Linked DNA regions of Homo sapiens: regions 1, 2, 3 and 4 are each linked to region 5. Evidence: promoter capture Hi-C in 16 types of primary human blood cells and fetal thymus (Javierre and others, 2016). All regions are on one chromosome and are shown on one strand. The core of a region is centred on a gene start or on the middle of the fragment in contact, and the rest is flanking DNA. Distances in the headings are between cores, read along the strand shown.

The links. The method cuts DNA at HindIII sites, captures the fragments that hold promoters and counts their contacts. A CHiCAGO score of 5 or more calls a contact.
Region 1: the fragment with the promoter of GOSR1 here is called in contact with the fragment with the promoter of BLMH in region 5 in 4 of 17 cell types (M2 macrophages, M0 macrophages, M1 macrophages and 1 more); the score reaches 7.4 in M2 macrophages.
Region 2: a contact is called between a fragment that was not itself captured here and the fragment with the promoter of BLMH in region 5, in 1 of 17 cell types (activated CD4 T cells). The highest score is 5.0, in activated CD4 T cells.
Region 3: a fragment that was not itself captured here is called in contact with the fragment with the promoter of BLMH in region 5 in 4 of 17 cell types (activated CD4 T cells, megakaryocytes, erythroblasts and 1 more); the score reaches 6.0 in activated CD4 T cells.
Region 4: a contact is called between a fragment that was not itself captured here and the fragment with the promoter of BLMH in region 5, in 7 of 17 cell types (megakaryocytes, endothelial precursors, M2 macrophages and 4 more). The highest score is 10.1, in megakaryocytes.

Annotation. Positions count from the first base shown.
Region 1 is chr17:30,475,999-30,478,698 of GRCh38, forward strand. It overlaps GOSR1 (golgi SNAP receptor complex member 1), which reads left to right and starts at 1,410. Exons shown (of 9, transcript NM_001007025.2): 1 at 1,410-1,466. The coding sequence starts at 1,436. RefSeq lists enhancers at 1,154-1,303, 1,454-1,673. The HindIII fragment of the contact is 3,772 bases long and covers 607-2,700 here.
Region 2 is chr17:30,431,020-30,433,719 of GRCh38, forward strand. CPD (carboxypeptidase D) reads left to right here. Exons shown (of 21, transcript NM_001304.5): 8 at 753-862. Among named protein-coding and RNA genes, the nearest start is that of GOSR1, 45 kb to the right of the region's middle. The HindIII fragment of the contact is 1,266 bases long and covers 688-1,953 here.
Region 3 is chr17:30,128,666-30,131,365 of GRCh38, forward strand. The region is part of intron 2 of NSRP1 (nuclear speckle splicing regulatory protein 1); the gene reads left to right. Among named protein-coding and RNA genes, the nearest start is that of MIR3184, 13 kb to the left of the region's middle. The HindIII fragment of the contact is 7,104 bases long and covers 1-2,700 here.
Region 4 is chr17:30,107,188-30,109,887 of GRCh38, forward strand. EFCAB5 (EF-hand calcium binding domain 5) reads left to right here. Exons shown (of 23, transcript NM_198529.4): 23 at 647-1,265. The coding sequence ends at 837. Among named protein-coding and RNA genes, the nearest start is that of NSRP1, 8.3 kb to the right of the region's middle. The HindIII fragment of the contact is 483 bases long and covers 1,079-1,561 here.
Region 5 is chr17:30,290,499-30,293,198 of GRCh38, forward strand. It overlaps BLMH (bleomycin hydrolase), which reads right to left and starts at 1,446. Exons shown (of 12, transcript NM_000386.4): 1 at 1,309-1,446; 2 at 813-1,010. The coding sequence starts at 1,321. RefSeq lists an enhancer at 667-726 and silencers at 1,177-1,246, 1,447-1,856. The HindIII fragment of the contact is 8,040 bases long and covers 1-2,700 here.

The DNA.
Region 1 (2,700 bases), core at 160-2,659, 190 kb after region 5:
AGCATAACTTCAGAGCTATGTGGGACATTAACACAAGATCTAGCATTCACGTCATCAGACTCCCAGAAAAAGAAGAGAAACAGTATGAGACAGAAAAAGTATTGGAAGAAACAATGGTTGAGAATCCCCCAAATTTGGCAGAAGACATAAATGTCAGAATCAAGAAGCTGAGGATATCCCAAACAGGATAAATCCAAAGAAATCTACACCAAGGCACATCATAACTTCTGAAAACTAAAGAACAGTTCTTGAAAGCAGTGAGAGAGAAAATGTATTTTAGCTACAGTGGAAAAACAATTCCAATTTTAGTCAATTTCTTATCTGAAACTATGGAGGCCAGAAGGAATTGGCACATTTTTCAAGTGCTGAAGAAAGAAATTGTCAACTTCAGATTGTATATCTGGCAACAATATCCGATCCCCCAAGAATGAAGGGAAATCAAGACATTCTCAGATGAAGAAAAACTAATAGAATTTGTCACCAGCTGATCTACTCTTTAAAAAAAAAATGGCTGAGGGAAATTCTTGAAACAGAAAGGAAACGATTAGAAAAAGGAATCTTGGGACACTAGGAACGAAGAAGAGTAAAATATGCATAAATCAAGTAAGCTTTCCTCTTCTCTTGAATTCTCTAACTTATGCCTGACCCTTGAAGCAAATATTGTAACACTGATGTGGTTCTCCTCAATGAATGCAGAGGAAATACTTAAAAACAACTATATTATAAATGAGTGGGGGAAAGAACTTTACAGGAATTAAGGTTTCTACACTTCACTAGAATTAAGTCAGCACCGGTAGACTGTGATAATTTATGTATCTATAAAGTGTGGGTTTGGACAGCAGATTTTATCAGGTTGAGGGCTCAGGCCGAGAGCATGTAGAAGCAGTTAGCTCACTCTTTCTAGATGTGGCGGCTGACAAGGACAAAGAGGGCTGGGACTAGAACTGCTGTAGACAAGGAAAGCAGCCAGTGGAGAAGAGCGCATACGCCAAAGAACGTGGATGATGGAGCACAGGCGGGGAGGTAGGATGAAGGAAATGGCTCTGGGAAGAAAGGGTCTCTATGTCTGAGAAAGGAAGAAATTGGCTGAAGATACAAATTAGAGACAAGGTGAGGGAAATTGAGGGAGTTGCCTGAGGATGATTCTCCTCCCAGTCAAGTAGGCACCTGCTGAGAGAAAGGATAAGCCGAGATGAGGGAGATGATGATGGTTTGGGGCGCAGAAAGCGGGAATGAAAGACAGGAGCTAAAGCCGAAGTTTTTTCTCTCTCGCTACTTAAAAGCTGTAAGATAACGAATTGATCAGCAGGTGGCAGTGTCCGCGGAGGCTCGCATCCCGTCGGCCCTGGCTCTCAAGGCGGAAACACGCACCATGGTGACTTTCCGGCCTGCATCGCCTCTGCTCCCCTATCCCGGCTGACGTTGGACGACAAAGATGGCGGCAGGGACCAGCAGTTACTGGGAAGGTGAGGGCGAGAAGGCCTCCGGGTGCGTCCTACGAGGGTGAGAGGGGCTGAGTGAGGACAGATCTTGGGAGAAGCAGCACAGGAAAGAACCAGACTCCCGGAGCGGCCGAGCTGAGCAGCGGGGCTTGCCTAAGTGGGATCCCCGGGGCCTTGGGGATACCGAACGGTCTGGGGTAGGGGTCTGGCCTGGCCGGGGCGTGTGAGCGGGACGTGGGGCAGGGGTTGGGCAGAGTGGACAGAGCGGGGATGTAGAGGAAGAGGGCTCTCAATCGCCTGGGTAGAATTGTGTTGAGGGAGTAATGGAACTCGGACGAAGGGGCTTGGGGTACGAACTCTGAGAGGAAACGAATGTTGAGGGAGAAGATCCAGAGCCCCGGAGACTGGAGGAGTCAGCGCATTGGAGCTGAGGTCACTATTGGAAAACTGAGTGGGAAAAGAGAAGGAGGAACTTGCATTCCGGTCCGTCGGAGGAAGTATGAAGAGAATAGGAGACAGAATGTCTCTTATTGGGTCTCCATGACAACTACAGGTTGGGGACTTCCAGGACTGGGTGTTTGAAGGAGGAGAAAATAACTTACCCTTCTGCTCTAGAGTCTAGAATCGGTTTTATTGAAAAAGTTGAGAGAACCTGTGTGAATTGCAGTTACATTTGCTATACTTCTCCCACCAAAAAAACCTTCCTGTGATTTGACAAATGCATTTGTTTAATTCCTGAAACTATAGTCGGATAAAGTGAGCTTACATAAAACTCATTCGTGGATTATGATGATCAACAAGAGCAGAGAAAGCTCACCTTTTTCTCCCAACTGTCTCTTTGCTTTACAGCCGCATAGAAACTACTTTCCAAATTCCTTTGACCTGTTTTTATTGCTATACACTGAAGCCTCTAGAAACCACAGTATTGTCACTATCAGCCCCTTGGTCTAAGAAACTCAATTCTAAATTTATCCAGATTTGCCTATCATACTTTCAAAATGCTTTTACTTATGTTTCCTACTAGAGAAGACAATTATTCCAATCACAGAAAAGCGTGCTTATAGTTTAAAACATGTATTACAATGCCCATTTGAAATGTGTGTACCAGCTAGAAAACTTTTTTTTTTTTTTTTTTGGAGACTCGCTATGTCGCCCAGGCTGGAGTGCGGTGGCGCTATCGATCTCGGCTCACTGCAGCCTCCGCCTCCTGCGTTCAAGCGATTCTCCTGTCTCAGCCTCCTTAGTAGCTGGGACTACA
Region 2 (2,700 bases), core at 71-2,570, 140 kb after region 5:
AAGCTTTTTGAGGAATTGCCAAACTGTTTTCCACAGAGGCTGGACTATTTTACATTCCCGCCAGCAATGTATGAGGTTCCAGTTTCTTCATATCCTCACCACCACTTATTATTTTCTATTTTTATTATTATAGCTGTCCTAGTGGGTGAGAAGTAGGACCTCATTTTGGTTTTGGTGTGCATTTCCACAATAACTAATGATGCCGAGGATCTTTTCATGAGCTTGTTGGCCATTTATCTATCTTCTTTGGAGAAATATCTGTTCAAGTCCTTTGTCCAATTTTTAATTGAGTTTTTGTCTTTGTTGTTAAGTTGTAAGAGTTTTTAAATACTGGACACTGGACCCTTATCAGGCTTGCAAAACATTTTCCCCCATTCTATAGGTTGTCTTTTCTCTTTCTTATGTTCTTGATGCATAAAAGTTTTTGATTTTGATGGAATCCCGTATATCTGTTTTTTTCTTTTGTTGCTAGTCCTTTCCGTATTGATGCTAATTATTTTTTTGAGGTAGACTGTTTGGTAGAAGTACTATAAATCTTTTTTTGTGGCTTTAGAAAATTAGCCATTTGAAAGATATCTTCTCACTTATTCACTTTGAATTGAAGAAATTAGTGTAATTTTCATTTCTGTTGAGGAAATTCTGCTTGGCAAATTTTATTGTTTTCTCTTCTCTGGCAGTATTCTGAAAAGCTTTATGTTAATAATCCATCTTGAAACAGACAACATGATACATTTTCCTCTTTTCCCTTATAGGTTCTTTGGTGGTTAACTACCCTTTTGATGATGATGAACAAGGACTTGCCACATATAGTAAATCACCAGATGATGCTGTGTTCCAACAAATAGCACTTTCTTATTCCAAGGTAGGCTTGTCTTTGAATATAAAATGTTACAAAATTAATTCTTTTATTTAAAAATATGCTTTAAAGTCCTGCAAGACTCAGGTCAAGTGCTTCCATAGTTAATAAAGCATGACTTTTTCAGCTGTTTCCGAAAAATAGCTTTTTCTCCTGTTTCCCACCTCACTTTTGAATACACTACATGTCTTTCTCCATTGGCCTTTTATCTATGGTTTTAGCACAGTACCTGGAACATATACATGTCAATTTATTTCATTTGACAAATAAGTTATAAGCCCAGTAAAGTAGGCCAAGATAAGGGCTTAATGAATTATAGCTCTGGAGCCAAATCTTGCCCACCACCTGTTTTTGTAAATAAAATTGTATTGACACACAGCCACAGCTATATTTTTATATATTGTGTGTGGCTGCTTTCTCCTTCAACATTTCAAAGTAAGTCAGTATAATTTACTATATTAACAAACTAAAGAAGGAAAATCCAGTGATCAAAGGGCAAAGTTGGGTAGTTTCAACAAAGACTTTTGCATCTAAAAAGTCTGAAATATTTGCTTTCTGGTTTTTTACAGGAAAAAATTGCCAAACTTTAGTCTAAGGTATTTAAGATCCTGTAGTTACATATAGCAAGGAAAAGCAGGCAGAAATTTCTGTATTTTCCAAACTTCCTATGATAAACATGGATTACTCTTACAATCGGGAATGTTAAAATGTGTGTGTGTGTGAAAATTTAATTTAAAAATCGTTCTTAGGACCAGGCTTGGTGGCTCATGCCTGAAATCGTAGCACTTTGGTAGGGCAAGGCAGGAGAATTGCTTGAGCTCTCAGGAGTTTGAGACCAGACTGGGCAACATAGCAAGAGCTTGCCTCTACTAAAAATAAAAAATAAAAAAAAAATTAGCCGGTTGTGGTGACATGCATTTGTTGTTCCAGCTACTTAGGAGGCTGAGGTGGGAGGATTGCTCTATCCCAGGAGATTGAGGTTGAAGTGAGCTTGATCACAATACTATACTCTAGCCTGGGTGACAAAGCTGAGACCCTGTCTCAAAAAAATAAAAATTGTCTTAGAAAACATGTTAAAAGTTGAGGCTTGTAAACTAAGCTTGTTAGTTTCAATGTTTGGTGTTACTACTGACTTAGTATTGTTATTGGTTATATTGGTACTATTATTGGTTATAGGTAATGAATATTATTACTGTAACTCTGCACTCTCCAGTCACAGTCCTCCATCCTTCCACTTTTCCCATTCCCTCATCCTCTGCAAATGAATCTTGTGAGATTGTTCAGAGTTTCTACTAGAGGAGTACAGCTGTTCATTTCACCTTAGAGAATTATTGCTTTCTGTTTGGACATATATGTTTTTTTGAAGTACATACGTGGAGTAATAAGAGAATGTATAGTGTCCCAACCATCAAAATAAAAATTAAATGGCTGGATTTTGCATATTTTCTCATCACATTCTATGCTCATTCTCATGATTTCTGCTTTTCGCCTTCATTTTGGCTTCTAGTTCCTTATCTTCTCTTTGTTTTCTTAGACCATTAACCCTTTTGATTTGATTTACCTTTCTCTGTAGGGTAGACCCATGGACATACCTTTTCAATGATTCTCCTAAGGGTCTTGTACACCCCTTTGACATAACTGCTTTGCCCTCCAGTCCTCAGTAATTACCATTATCTCTTTTCTCCATACCAATATTACAAGTACAGCCTAGAGTGGTCACACTGTCACGGCAATTTGCTATAGTCCATATGTGTGCTCTCCAACTTCAGCTGAACCCTCAGTCCTACATGGCAACATTTCCTGTTTAGCTACTTGACTCCCTGGCTCAGTTCCCACTATGGTGA
Region 3 (2,700 bases), core at 135-2,634, 160 kb before region 5:
TATTTTTAGGTATTCAAAAGCATTTATCTTGGGTCTCTTTATGATCGTAAAAATTTAAGACCAGTCCAGCTTTCAACAGTGAAAGCATGAGTAAGTAAAGTGTGTGCAATACTACGGCTATCACATTCATCATGAAATAACATTTAGTGAAAAAATATATACAAATTTGTTATAGATAAAAGGAAAAAAGACAATAAAGCATTTCATATTAATGGTAGTTATCTTTGTATGGCAGACAATGAGTGGTTTTTTTGTTTTTTTTTTTTTAATTTGTAGAGATGGGGGTCTCGCTATATTGCCCAGGCTCATTTTGAACTCCAGGCCTCAAGTGATCCTCCTGCTTTGGTGTCCCCAAGTGCTGGGATTACAGGTGTGAGCCACCACGCCTGGCATGATTTTTTTTTTTATACTTTTCTGTATTTTCAACTATTTTTTAAGAAAAATTATGGTGAATTTTAAGGATTTCCCATAGTGTATTTAGTTTCCAAATCATATTAAAATGTAAAAAGATATAACACATTTTATCTGATAGAAGACTAGGAGAGAAAATATTGGGACATTTTAAAAGCATGAGGTAGATGAAATAAGGATACAAAATTGAATACTTAGGGTTGTACAATGCTATAGGTGCACAGATAAGTAAAAAATAATAAATGAAAATGATTACTTTTTAGCATGGTAGTGTGAGTTTTTTTTCAAAATCATATTATTATTTTGTTATAATTTTGACGAATACAAGGAAGTGAGTGCTTAAAAAAAAAAAGATAACCATAATTGTGTATTCCCAAAGTAAGAAGCATTAGCAAGTTACAGGATTACATAAGTGTATACACTTCCATTCCTTTCACTATTTCTTGATATTTCTCCTCTTTAATCTTTTTAAAAATTTTCTTGAAAAAGTAAGTTGAAGGTTTGGTTTTCCTAATGAAAAATTAATCTTATTTTAGCTGGAAGCCTGTTTGGCTTACTATTGGTAAGAAAAAGTTAAAATTTTAATCTGTCTGAACATTATAGTACATCCAAATCAATAAAATGTTTTAGTTGTGGTTTTTCATCAGTTTTAATCAGATAATGCCTTACTTCTGTAGATATAGTCTAGTATAGTTCAAATAAAAAGACAGTTGTACATAGATAAGACAAAGCATATTGTGAAAATGTTGGGAAATTTAGGTTATTTTAATGATGGCTGAGAATTTGTGAACTTTTCTCATATGCTATTAAACTGAATTACTAGTAAATTTATGGTACCGAGTATATCAAACAGTGAGGGATTTAAAGTAATTTTGCAATTTGCTAAAATTTCATCCTTAACATACTGGCTAAGAGTGAAAAAGCAAGAAGAGAGAAAAGGAAAAGGATGGAACTAAGACAATTCTATTAGAAGTGGGGAGATGGCAAGAAAATTCTGTCCTCCTTATTTTTCTTTTTCTTTTTTAAAATATTTCATTTTGAGACAGGGACTCACTGTTGTCCAGGCTAGAGTGCAGTGGCTCTGTCACAGCTCACTGTAGCCTCAACCTCCTGGGCTCAAGCAATTCTCCCACCTCAGCCTCCCAAGTAGCTGAGACTACAGTCATGCACTACCATGCCTGCCTAATTTTTTTTTATTTTTTTGTTGAGACAGAGTCTCACTATGTTGCCCAGGCTGTTCTGGAGCCCCTGGCTTCAAATGATCCTCCTGCCTCAGCCTCTCAAAGTACTGGGATTAGAAGTGTGAGCCACTATGCCCAGCGTCCACTAGTCTTTTTAACCATTGTTTTCCATTTCTGAGGTCTTTGACTTAATTTCATAGTTTTTCAACATGTGCTCATTGGGGCATTATTTCTTAAGTTTTTGATTGTTAAATAATGCTTGCCCATTGCTTTTGTCACTTAAATATCTACTTGATTGGGTGTAATATTTCTACAATAACAATTTATTTCAAAATCTTACAGACATTAGTGATTTTTTCTGGTACTTAATGTTCTTATGAGGAAGTACAACACTATAGTTTCTTTTATCCCTACTTCTAGACTTTTTTTAATTGGCTTGGACTACTGGAGAGTATATAGCCTTTTTAACTCAATGTGTCTTGCTGCAAATAATGTTGAATTGTTTTTTCCAGGAATACACTGTTTCTTTTTCTCTAAATATTTAGCTTTTTCTTCATTTCATTGAAATTTACTGTCATCCATGTGCTGGGTTATCATTTTGGAGGATCATCTTTGTCTTTCATATCATCGTCATGCATTTATTAATGCATTCAACAGATATTTATTGATCACTTGCCCTGTGCCAGTGAAACATAACAAAAGCCACTGCCTTTATGGCACTTATATTCTCAAGGTGGTGGTGGTGGGGGGTGATAAGTAATTAACATAACAGATAAGTAAGTTACATGTGAATTTAGAAGATTACAGAGCTGTGAAAAAGTAGAGCAGGATAAGGAAAATTAAACAGGTATTTAGGGAAATTACTCAGTCTATGTCTTTTTCTCTCTACTAAGATTAAACTTTTGTCAGTGTTTCAGTTATAGCTTTTCTGTTTCTTACTGTTTCTAATTTATTAGCTCTATTGGTGTTATTTTAGTCTTCAATATATTTTCTTTAGCTCTACAGTTTCTCTGTCTTTTATTGTCCTCTCATCTGAATAGTAACTTTTAAAATTTAATTAGTAATCTTATTTTGAAGAGTTTGACAGGGAAGAGAGAGAGGAAGAGAT
Region 4 (2,700 bases), core at 70-2,569, 180 kb before region 5:
TTAAAAAACTTAAAACATATAATGGTGTGCAGTTACTATATAGCTTTAAATAATTTTTAATTAGGAAATATTTCAAACATGCAAGTATAGAGAATAATACCTGCATAGTCATTATGAAGCTATATTCTATATCCAACCTTAACACTATATTTGAGTTAGACTTTTTAAAGAAAACATTATAGGAACAGTTGAGGATTTCTATCTTTCCTCGATCCCACTGTCTTCTCGTCTTTCCCTAGAGATAATACTATCATGAATTTGGTATTGGTTTCATGCATGATTTCTTATTTTTACTATATGCTAATGAATCCATAAATAATATAATACTATCTTGCAGGTTTTAAAGCCGTTTAATTGTGCCCAAAAGTACACATTATTCTATAACTTACTTTTTGTATTGAATATTTTGAGATTTATTCATGAATACAAATAACTCTAATTCTTTGTTAACTGCTGTTAAGTATTCCATTGTATGACTATACCAAAATTTATCCATATTCCTGTAATTACATATTTACACAAGATTCTGCTTGGTTTTGACTCAAAACATATCTAATGAACTTTAATCATAATATTAGAACTTATAATTTTAATAGTAAAGTGCAAAACTCTCCACTCTTACTTTTCTTTTTTTTTCCTGATGCAGATCATTCCCGAACTGAAGTATGGAAATTTGGTAATGTTGTCATTGAACATCTATACCACTGGATACACATCTGTTCAGCTCTCATGAAGATAACCAAACAACTAAATAGTGGTATTACACCTCCGTTGCCCTCCAAGACTGACAATTATATGTATGCAAAAATGCCAGGGGAAGGTTTGCAAGAGAAGTGATAATGGATGATAATGGAATTGATACTGTATTTAGGATCCTTTGTTTGTTATCAGTTTTGTTTGTTAACTATAAAATATTTTCCATTGGAAAGGGGTACCTATAAATGTCTTCTGCTGCTAATATTTATCTCAGCACTTTCTAAACCCAAAAGTGCTACCTAAGAAGAAATTTAGCCAAAAAATACCCAGCTAAGGTAGCCATAGCCAAGTGTATTTAAGTATGTTATAGAATATATTTGAAAGCTTCCTTTCAGTTTGAGCTTTGTATCTGCTGTGGAACTGTTATGGTTGATTGGGTAGTTATTTTTCATTCTTATAAGGTTCAAAGTAACAGCTGAGGATTTAGAAAACAAGAATACCAAATAGAATACGAAATAATAAAGATAAACCAAAAGAATACCAAATAATAAAGATTTTTAAGAAATGGACTGAGAATTGTTTTTCTAATTTTTCAAAGACTTATCTAAACATCGCCTCTTCCCTCTCTCTGCCTCCATACTCTTGCCTTAACAACTCAAAAGTTGCTTTTGGTTTTTAACTTTTTAATTTTTAATTTTTGTGGGTACATAGTAGTTGTACATATTTATGGGGTACTCAAAAGTCATTTTAATGAACAGAAATTCTTGTGGGAAAATGTCCATGACTCATGGAAAAAAGAAGACACTTTTTTAATGATAAAAACCTCTTCAGTTCAAAAGTACAAAAAGAATTTATATTTGTTTAAAGCTTGTTTTTATGACAAACTTTACTGCTCTGTGGTGAGATTTCATCTTTGCAATAGATATCTGATGACAGAGTCCAGTTTTAATAAAATTTTGGGAAATTAAACTTTATTTTCTTTATTAGATTGACAAAATGTGATGTGTCCAAATATCTTATAATTTGAGATTGGCCGTCCCTTTTTAACCTTTTCTGATAAGAGGGCAGTGTTATTACCAGTCCTCCTCTCTCGGATGATCACATGCCAGTTTTAACCTATATGCCTGTTTCATATTTGGAAGGGGGCTTTTTAGGGCCTTCAGAGCAACATTCCAAGGAACAGTGTTCTTGAAGATATTAAACTCATAACCACATATCCTGATGGCTTCAGAGCAAGTTTACAGAGTTCACTGTGAATACAAATGGCATTTTAGGTGGCAAGGAAGGAAAGATTTTGCAGAATGCCATGTTTGTAACCGTTATCCTGGAAATTAAATTAACTAAATGACTTCTAGCTTGATGAAAAATATCATACATTTGCATGGCACTTTAACTTGAAGTGTTTTCGCATACTAGCTTATTTGATTCTTCCAATAATCTATAAAGTGGGTAGTCCTGATATTATCTCTATTTTATTTTATAAATGAGTTGCCCAGTTCACAACAGGCATAAGAGGCAGAGCGGACCTAGCACATAATTTCTGGTTTATTGCCCTTGCCAGCACCCTAGAAATCTCACACTTTCCAACTTTCTTACTAGGCTAATGACCATGCTGTCAGTCTTTTGAAAACTACTTTAAAATTTGCAGCCAAACAAGCCAGATCGGTTAAATTTATTAAATAATCATTCAAGTAAAATACTGTCCCTTAACCTTAGGAGCTTATATTTTGAGTGAGGAGGATGTTATTTATACCTGATGAAGGTTAGATACAGATTTATATCTAAATCCATTTATTTCGCTGTTAATAGATTTATTTATTTACTTATACTTACATATGCTTCAGAAGCTTGGACTTGATTAACTGAATTTGTTATTGGCTCTTTCCTGATAGCTCATAGGTAACAATGACACTGTACAGTGTAGACCATCCAGACCACTTTCTCTCCTTTGCTTTCTTTTTTATTTTTTTAAGTGACAGGGTCTCGCTCTGTCCCCTAGGCTGG
Region 5 (2,700 bases), core at 196-2,695:
TGTACATACAATAAAATGTACTCACGTTAAATGTGTGCTTTGTGAGTTCTAACCGACTCTAAACAAGCACTGATGTGCTTCCTGTCCGTATAGATAGACTGGGGGGTCGTTTTTAAGTATAGAAAGACTTTAAAAAATCCGTTTAGTACAATTTTGTTGTGAGAATGTGCTCCTTATTTAGATTGCTGGATATCCAATCTTTCACTATACCTGTTTTTTCTGAGAGTGGTGCTAGAAAGCAGATAGCAAAACGAGACTTCTTGACCAGCAAGGCATGAGAACAGAACTTTTTTCTGTATTACAAACTGATCTACTGGTGGGAACTGAGCCCATCAGCACATTAGCTTCAGTTGTAACCAAGAAGCATATTTAAAAGTAACATCTGATGACATTTTAATGTAATTACATTGTATCTTTTCTATTTCATAGTATAGGGCCTTCAGGGCATTTCTGGGGAGTCCTCCAAAGATATGAACATTTTCACATGTTCTGTTTTGTGACCAAGACCATACATCTCCAAGACACGGGCTACAAACCACACAGCATTGGAACATAATATAGTCAATTACACTCAAACGTATACTCATGGACATGTCACTTTTGTACTCTAACCGCATGTACTAACAAGCCACAGAACAGCAAAACAAACCACATGGGTAATGTTCTTAGACCTGCCTGTACCTGTGCCTCATTCTTTACGAATTTACGACCAGTTCTTTCAGTACGAATTTAAGACCACTCTTAAATAAGACACCAAAATGGGACGCTGTCAGGAAGGTCAAGGAACGTATGGGAGAAGTGGAAGCCCACACCTGAGCTCTTCTGGTTGGTGATTGGCTTGCCCTCCTGGGGCACGGCGTGCTGGAACACATGCTGCGCGCGCTGCACCGTGGCCCGCTTCAGACAGATGTCCAGCAGGTCGTGGGTGGTCCCGACATTCTGGGCAAGTACGAACTGGGGGTCGGAATTCAGTTTCTGTATCAGAGCAGCTACCTTCTCCGAATTCAGTCCTGTTGGGAGACCAAACAGGATTTTAACGCAAAAAGAGGGGGAAAGGGCTGATCTGGGGCTCCCGCGTCCCGAATCTAACTTCGTAAGCGCATCCTGGGGTGCCCGCTGCAGCGGGGAAACCCATAAGCGGCATCCTCCTCCAAGGAGCTGTCTCCCTCCAGGCCGATCCAGCCTGCCCCGAAAGCTCCCTCCCCGCCATCGCCAAGGGTCCCAGCCCCCGGCCTTCCCCGCCGCCGGGCCTCACGGGGACCGCGGAGCTCCTCCAGAGGACCGCGGCGGGGGACGGCGGCACCTCACCCGAGCTGCTCATGGCGCCCACGCTGCCCGGCGGGGTAACGGTAGCTTCCAGGGTCCTTGGGCGAGCGCCGGGATTGCGCTGCGGCTCGCTGCCTAGGGGGCCCGACCTGTCTCTCGCACCCGGAGCGCCGGAAAAAGGAAACCGGCTCGGCGGCGGCGGCGGCGGCGGCGGCGGGGAGGCTGAGGCTGGGAGAAACGGGGTCCGCGGAGGGACAAAACTCCCCCCTCGCGTTGCTGAGTCAGCGCCGTCGGGGCTGGCCCCGCCCGGGGGAGGGCCGACGGGGGCGGCCTAGCTGACGCGCTGGGTCCGCCAGCGCCCGGGGGCTGAGGCCGCGCCTGCCCCCGCGCAGGACCGCACAGATGGTCTGCGCGCCAGGGCGGCGCCGGCGCCTTCTCCCCCTAGGTTCCCGCCTCCGGGCCGCGCGGGCGCCCTCCCGGGATCAGGCCCGCTCCAAGGAGGGAGGCTGACGGGTTCCCTGTGGGCCCAGACCCCCAGTACTCTAGCATCGGGGAATCGTCCCCAGGAAGCCTTGTGAGAAGCCAAAAGGGAGCTCGAGGCGGGAGGGAGGAGCTGAGAGGTCCCATAATTAAGCGTCGGGCTTAGGACGGGTCGATATGTCACAAGGAATGCACCCGAAGGCTCTTCCTATAGGCTTCGTTTGCTGACCAATCACTGCATTCTCAATGGCAACTTGTTGCTTGGATTCTCATCAGAAGCAAATAATTGTCTTTGAGGGGGAATGGGAACCAAGCTCTTCCCCACCCACTCCAAAGCTACTACCAGAGTTCTACAAATAGACATCTGCTCATTTCAAGAACACTACCCATCTGGTCTTCACGGAGTCCACGAGTGGCTCCTGTATAGTCCAGCATGTCCCGTTGGGTTTAACTCAGGAGGATGACAGAGGCTAGCCGTATGCATCAATATTGTTTCGCCGAGTTCTCTACAAAACTAACTGATGCTCCCCCTCTAGGCTTTCAAGATAACTCAACAGTTTCCCAAAGTTTTGAGATTGTAAAAACCTTGTTTTTGTTGATTCCGTGTTTCATGCCCTGAAATCTCAGCCCTTAGTAAGATGCTGGGATAGAACCCACAGAGAGTAAAACAAAAACACTGAAACCCTGTATCTGCTATTCAAAACGATGAGGTTGAGTGTGTGTGTGTGTAACCTAGAATCTAGGTCTTCTTAGATTGAAAATCATCGCAGTTCTAAGGAACTCTGATATCTGGAAAAATCCATACTCAGGCACCAATCAGTCATTTGAGAAAGCACGGTTTCTATGTCCCTAGAGAGACTCGGCTAAAAATTGGGGCTATAACATAGCAACTATCTTAAGTGGGCCCATCAACCATCCTATTCTGAGGTTCTTTCAATATCTGAAAAAGAAGAG